Linked DNA regions of Homo sapiens: region 1 is linked to region 2. The links are contacts of gene promoters, found by promoter capture Hi-C in blood cells and fetal thymus (Javierre and others, 2016). All regions are on one chromosome and are shown on one strand. The core of a region is centred on a gene start or on the middle of the fragment in contact, and the rest is flanking DNA. Distances in the headings are between cores, read along the strand shown.

The links. The method cuts DNA at HindIII sites, captures the fragments that hold promoters and counts their contacts. A CHiCAGO score of 5 or more calls a contact.
Region 1: a fragment that was not itself captured here is called in contact with the fragment with the promoter of NRCAM in region 2 in 1 of 17 cell types (naive CD8 T cells); the score reaches 5.7 in naive CD8 T cells.

The regions. Positions count from the first base shown.
Region 1 is chr7:108,489,652-108,493,050 of GRCh38, forward strand. It overlaps PNPLA8 (patatin like domain 8, phospholipase A2), which reads right to left. Exons shown (of 11, transcript NM_001256007.3): 8 at 1,759-1,816. Among named protein-coding and RNA genes, the nearest start is that of PNPLA8, 35 kb to the right of the region's middle. The HindIII fragment of the contact is 536 bases long and covers 1,752-2,287 here.
Region 2 is chr7:108,454,525-108,457,992 of GRCh38, forward strand. NRCAM (neuronal cell adhesion molecule) reads right to left here and starts at 1,912. Exons shown (of 33, transcript NM_001037132.4): 1 at 1,719-1,912. The HindIII fragment of the contact is 7,436 bases long and covers 353-3,468 here.

The sequences.
Region 1 (3,399 bases), core at 770-3,269, 35 kb after region 2:
CAAAGTGCCTAGCAGTGGGTGTATAATTAATACTTGCAGAATGAATCAAAGTATGAGTATGCCATAGTTAAGAGCAACAGAAAGAGCTGCACTTGTTTGATTTTTCATGGTTACAGTTCGTTATCTGAGAATAAATACAAGCTGCATGAAATTTCTAGGCACATAAATTCTATTCTTTAAACAAGTAATATTAAACAGAACTCAAGCAACACTCAGATCATTGGGTTTCAAACACACAAATAAATGAAGAGCCACATTGAGACACATCTAAGTGACATTACAATTTTAATGGGGATTCAATTTTTATAATAATATAATCTAATATAGTCATGCATTGCATATCAATGTTTTGGTCAATGATGGACCGCATATACAACAGTGGTCCCATAAGACTATAAACGGGCTTCTATGCTGTATTTTTCACTGTATCTTTCTATAGATATTTTTTATCTAGATATTTGTATATCTGTAGATACGTAAGTATTCTTATCATTGTGTCACAATTGCCTACAGTATTCAGTATAGTCACCTGCTGTACAGGTTTATAGCCTAGGAACTATAGGCTATACCATTTAGCCTACATGTGTAGTAGGCTATACCATCTAAGTATGTCTAAGTACACTCTATAACACAGGTTTATAGCCTAGGAACTATAGGCTATACCATTTAGCCTACATGTGTAGTAGGCTATACCATCTAAGTATGTCTAAGTACACTCTATAATACTTGCACAATGACAAAATAATCTAATGACACACTTCTCAGAATGTATCCCTATCATTAAGTGATGCATGATTGTATTGTATCTAAGAGGCATATAAAATTTCTCTTTAAAAATCTAGGGTAAGAAGGCTGGGCGCGGTGGCTCACGCCCGTAATCCCAGCACTTTGGGAGGCTGAGGTGGGCGAATCACGAGGTCAGGAGATCGAGACTATCCTGGCTAACATGGTGAAACCCTGTCTCTACTAAAAAATACAAAAAATTAGCCGGGCGTGGTGGCGGCTGCCTATAGTCCCAGCTACTTGGGAGGCTGAGGCAGGAGAATGGCGTGAGCCCGGGAGGCGGAGCTTGCAGTGAGCCGAGATTGTGCCACTGCACTCCAGCCTGGGCGACAGAGCAAGACTCCGTCTCAAAAAAAAAAAAAAACTAGGGTAAAAAATGTCATAATGTTCCTTAAATCACTAGATTTGATTTTTAAAATTATGATGAAATAATTCTTATTTTCAGTCCATCTTTCATGTTCTTCCATTTCTGGTATAGTTTTACCGAATTTATAAAAGGTATAAGGATGATATCCCATCTCTTCATAGAATGACTCAATATATAAAGAATTAATACAATCTGTAATACCTTAATAAAAGGGCCCTCAGGGCCGGGCACGATGGCTCATGCCTGTAATCCCAGCACTTTGGGAGGCCAAGGCGGGCAGATCACCTGAGTTTGGGAGTTTGAGACCAGCCTGACCAACATGAAGAAACCCTGTCTCTACTAAAAATACAAAAAAATTAGCCAGGCGTGGTGGTGCATGCCTGTAATCCCAGCTACTTGGGAGGCTGAGGCAGGAGAATCACTTGAACCTGGGAGACGGAGGTTATGGTGAGCCGAGATCGTGCTATTGCACTCCAGCCTGGGCAATAAGAGTGAAACTCTGTCTCAAAAAATAAAAATAAAATAAAATAAAATGGCCCTCAGGACAAGTGCTTTCACCAGACCTTCAGATGGAACTAGGTGTTATATTTAAGAGACTCTAAGCTTACCTTAGGACATGTGGGGTTTCTTGCTGTTTCAATCATCAGTGCAGATCCCATCCTATCCCTTTATTAAAGGAGAAAAAAATAAGTTATATCAAAATGACTTTATCTCCTAACAACCAGGAAACATACAGTATGCAATTACTATTTGTCCATGGCTTTGTCAAAGTGCTATGAAGGAAAACATGTAAGACTCTCCTCTAGGAGGCTTATAATTCCATTAATGCACATGAAACAATATGCAGTTATTTATCAACCTCTGATTCAAACTGCAAGTATCTACAGTTCTGAGGTGGAGCAACGAACAGAGGGGCAGTAACTGGAAAAGATGCAGGAAGGTTGCTGGAGGAAGACATTGAAAGACTGCAAGGCAACATATTTAAAGCTAGGACATATACAGATTAAAGGCACAAAGGCAAAATAAATCTGTTGTTTTCAGGGTCCTGCCAATAGGATAAAGGAGCTGTGTTGAGATAAGACTGCAGAAGTATGCACGGGCTAGTTAGAGTAACCAGGTGAGGACAATGAGACTTTAAGCTTGTTTTAGTTGGTAACAGCCAATGTCATCAAGAAAATGGCTTTGAAAATCATCAGAGTTGGCATTTGAATTACTATGACATTACAGAAATTGTCCTTGGGCAGCAATTTTTGCAATTCCATAATAAGAGAATTTTATTTCAATGCAGACTTTTCCAGACTTAAAAATTATGTATTTTCCCTATATTGAATACAAAGACTATGGTTTCACCAGCCTTCCTCATGAGTAAAACCATTTTCTAATGTGTTTTTCAAACAATACTCATGTTTCCCAACTAGAATATTAGTGAACTTCATAAAAAGAATATTTACAAACTGCTCAGTGATCTACCCTTTATAAGCTTTAATAAATATCAATGTAAAATACTTTCCAAAATGGACAAGATCTTTTGTCTTTCCCAACCTGATCTATACATTTCTACTACATAAAGATCAATGCATTTTATCTTTTTAAGGTTCTTTGTCTTTTCACAGAATTCTTACTGTAAAATTACAAGAGAAATCCTAGGAGCATGCTGATTTCACACTTTTTGGCAAAGTTCATATTTATTTATTTTTATATTTGTTTAAATCTTGGTTTTCTCAAAACCTAAAATGCTTTTAGTGAATTCACTTATGAATATAAACTTGTAAAAAAAGCAATGGTAATTGTTTATTTCCGAGATGTCAAAATATGAAAAAAAAATCAACATGCCTAGATTCTACTGATGGCATAAAATAGTTCCCTTAAAATAACACAAAATTATCACAGCAAAATAAATAAATAAATAAAAGTCCTCTCAATAAACAATGGGCGAAAAAATGCTACGACAAAAAAGGCCAGAAGGTAGATATAGAAGAATATTAACAATACTGGCACCCAGTGAATCACAGTCCTGGTATCCATGTCATTGTATACAGTCTCTTCCTATACAGACTCTTGGTTGGCATGGCTTTCGTCCATGTGACCTCAACAAACATGCCATTAAACTGAGGCTTGATAAGTGCTTATGCACTGGGGCTTGCTCTCTGGGAACTCTGAAACCACAATGATGAGACGAAGCTTGGGTGAGAATGACCAGGTGGAGAGAGAGGCTTCCCAGGCCCATTGGTAGAGCCACCAAGTGAGCT
Region 2 (3,468 bases), core at 662-3,161:
AAGCTCTCAAAACCGGTTGGCTATCGTTACCATTAAAGCAGCAAGTATCAGTTGCCTAACTCCATTTCAGTACTTCAGCAAGTACTGCCATTATTACAATATTTTAACAGCAGGGCATGGTTAGCACAATGCAGTCCCATAAAGCAGCCCAGCCTCCGAGGTTTGTATTCAGAGGTTACTGTGTTCCTTTCCAGGACCACCCCAGGGGGAGCTCCTGGTGCACAACCAATGCTTCCTGCCTCATTACACTTGGCTCCATCTCCTCCTGCAAAAGCCTGGGGCGAGGAAGAGCCCAGTCTCTTAGACCCGCACTTCTGAGCGTTAACCATCTGGGACTCGGAAAGGAAAAGAAAGCTTTCTTCTCAGGACAGTTCTGCGCCGGTGGTAGCCAAGGGCTGGAGCCCCTGATGCGAAGAAAAGGGAAGGAGAGAGGCGGGGTGCGAAAGAAACGCCACCGCTCGGCGCCCTCCCTCGGTGCCCGCGGCGCAGGGGCCACCCGCCAGCGTACGGGGGACGAAGATGTGGCCGCGGGCGCGGGCGGGAGGGGAGGCGATCCGGGGAAGGAAGCGGCCTGTTCGCCAGCCCCGGGGCCCGGGGAGCCCTCCAGCAGCGCTTGCGGCCCTGAGGACACCGCTTTGGGAGAAATGACGACTCCCTTGCTCACCCTACTGCGACACCCCGTCCCCCTCCGCACTCTAGCAGATGCGGGCCGGGAGTAGCTGAGCTGGCCAACCGCCTGGGACCAGGATGCGGCAGCGCCCACCCGCGCGGCGTGGAGGGGGCCGGGGGCGGCGCTCGGCGCAGATGGCGCTCGCTGCGAGATGGATGCTCCAGGGCGGGTAATCACTCCTGGCTCAACACAGCATCCCGGGCGGAGCGGATGCCAGATCCCACCGCTAAGAGCCTGGGCTGGGAAAGCAATCTTTCCAGGCAGCCCCCAGCCCGGTGCGCCGGCCCCGACAAGTCCCAGCCCTCGGAGGCAGGGCGGGGCGCAGGGACTCCCGGGACCCGCACCTGTAAGGCCGACAAAGCCCCCGCAAGCGCCCCACCCCTCTGTCCTCCGTGTCTCTCTCGTTCCGCCTCGATTCCCCGAGCCCTCTCCAGGCAGCGACTGGAGAAGCGAAGTCGGCCTCGCCCCCGAACTCCGTGGTCAGCACAGGTGTACGCACTTCCGAACAAAGCCCACGCCCAGACGTGTCCGCAGGGGCCCGAACAGGCACACGCCCGTGCGCTCCCGGCCCGGCCCCCGCGCTCCTCGCCCCGCCGGCACTGTGGCGTGACGCCCCGCGCCTCCGTGTCCAAGCCCGGGAAGCCGCCGTGCCGGGCCCGCAGGCTCTCCATGCCCAACTGCCCACGAGCAAGAGCTCTGGGCAGGGCTTCCCGGAAAGCGTGGGGTGCGGGCGCGGAGCAGAAGTTGGCCACAGGCTGGAGGGGGTGGTGGGTGCCGGCGCTGCTGGATTTCAGCTGTGCCTTCACCCAAGCGCAGGTCCCCCTGCTCCCTCTCGGCGCCCGCGGGAGTGTCGGGGGCCTGCAGGGGAGAAGGGAGTTGGAGATCTGCTTTGCCCCTCCTGCAGCGCTGCCAGCCCGGTGAGCGCTCGGCTGAACCCCGCGGCGGTGTCCAAGTGACAACGCAGCAGCCTCGCGCGTCCTCCTCCGCTCCAGCCGTCACCCCCGAGCAGGACCCAGTGTCACCGCCAGACGCGCAAGGAGCTACTTACGTTCTCGCGCCGCGCCCTCCGCTCAGCTCTGGCGCGACTGCCCAGGACCCTGGACCGCCGGTGTCCTCCGTTCTCGACGAAGCTATCCCCTCTGGCTGCTCCAGCCAGGCGGCCCCTGCGCCGTCCCCCGCGCCCGCGCGTCTGAGGCTCGGACTGCGGCGCGCGTCCGCCAGCGACCCTGGCGAAGCGAGGCTGGCCCCGCGCCGGCGCGCGCCCCCGCCGCTCCCGCCCTCTCCGCTCCCCCTCCCCGCGCCGTGCTTTTGCCCCTCCCGGCTCTCCTTAGCGTCCTCCCGTCCCCCTCCCCCGCACTCCCTGCGGGCGTCCTCCGCCTCCTCCCCTCCTGGCCAACCCCCTCTTGCCCTGCTGCTGCGACGGCAGCGAATGGGCTCCAGCCGCCGGCGCCTCGAGGGACTGGGTGGCCCCTCACCTGAGCGGCCGCCCCACCGCCAACCTCCGTCAGCCTGCGAGCGCGTGTGGCGGCGGGGGTGGGGGTGCGGGGACGGAGGGCGGGAGTGTTCCGGGGCTAGGATGGCTGGGATTTAGCTACAAAAGATGTTCCAGAAAATGGGTAGTTTTTGAATGCCACTCTCATGGGTTTAGCTTTCTGTGGGAGGTCTGTGGTCTTCTAGTTTTTTCTTTTTTAAAAAGCACTTTCTTCGAAATTCATCAGTTGGGGTGGTTGAGATTGGGTGAGTGGTTTTGGGGGTTTTGTTTTGTTTTTGCAACCGTTCTTTCCAAACACTCCCCGCCGCCCCCCACCACCGCAGAAAAAAGAGCTTTTAGCATAAGGCGGATGCTATCTATCCGCGGTAGAAACTGGGTCTTCTGGTCCCAAGGAATAGGGTTAGTTCGGATTTGCTTATTTACAAATGGGGGAGTATTATGGAGATTTTTTTTTTTTTTTTTTGGCAATGTAAATCGAGAATTAAGATTTTCCAACTGTATAGTATTTGAGTAAACACACTGCTTGCTGCATAGTTCAGGCTCCGAAGCGCACGTCTCCACTCTATCGTGGATGGTGTTCAGGATCCTTAGCCTGACCCTTGGGTCCTCCGTAATCTACTCCGGTCTGCACACAAATTACTTGTCTGCTGGGTATCACCCGACTTGACCACTTACAGCAGGCTCCAGCGCTTAGTGAGCTCAGCGGAGCCTTGATTCCTTCAGTTCTCTAATTCAGGAAAACATTTTCTGAGCTCCTCACCACCCCACCCCACCTCACCACCTCCTCCACCCCCAGCCTCCAAGGTGCTGGGGCAAGATTCAGGAATGAAAAAGAAACAGGTTCATCCTTCAAGGTCTTGACTACCCCAGTGGTCTGTTCTAACTTCAATTTGAACTTGCCCCGTCAGCTCACAGCATCTGCATGCAAGTGAGCAGCCTTCTTTTCCTTCTCCTTCTACTGCCATCCTCTCCTCCTTCTCCAGCCAAATGTGCTCTGGCCTCACAGAGCCTCCCTCGGTTCCTGAACCAGCATGATATCTGGCTGCTGGGTCATTGCACAAGTTGTTTCCACAGTCCCATCAGTGGTTCTTCTGACTCTAGTCCTTACCCAACTGCCATTCAGGTGGTACCTTGCACCTCTCAACTAATTGTCCAAATTTTCCTCTAAAATACCTTCCCCCCCGCAAAAAAAAAGATTCCATGATCCCCCTACTTGAAAGTCTGGGCTGGTGGGCTGGTTCTCTATTGCCTACAAAGTAAATTCCACATCTCCTGGTGTGCCTCTTTACAATCTGCTCCTAACTTA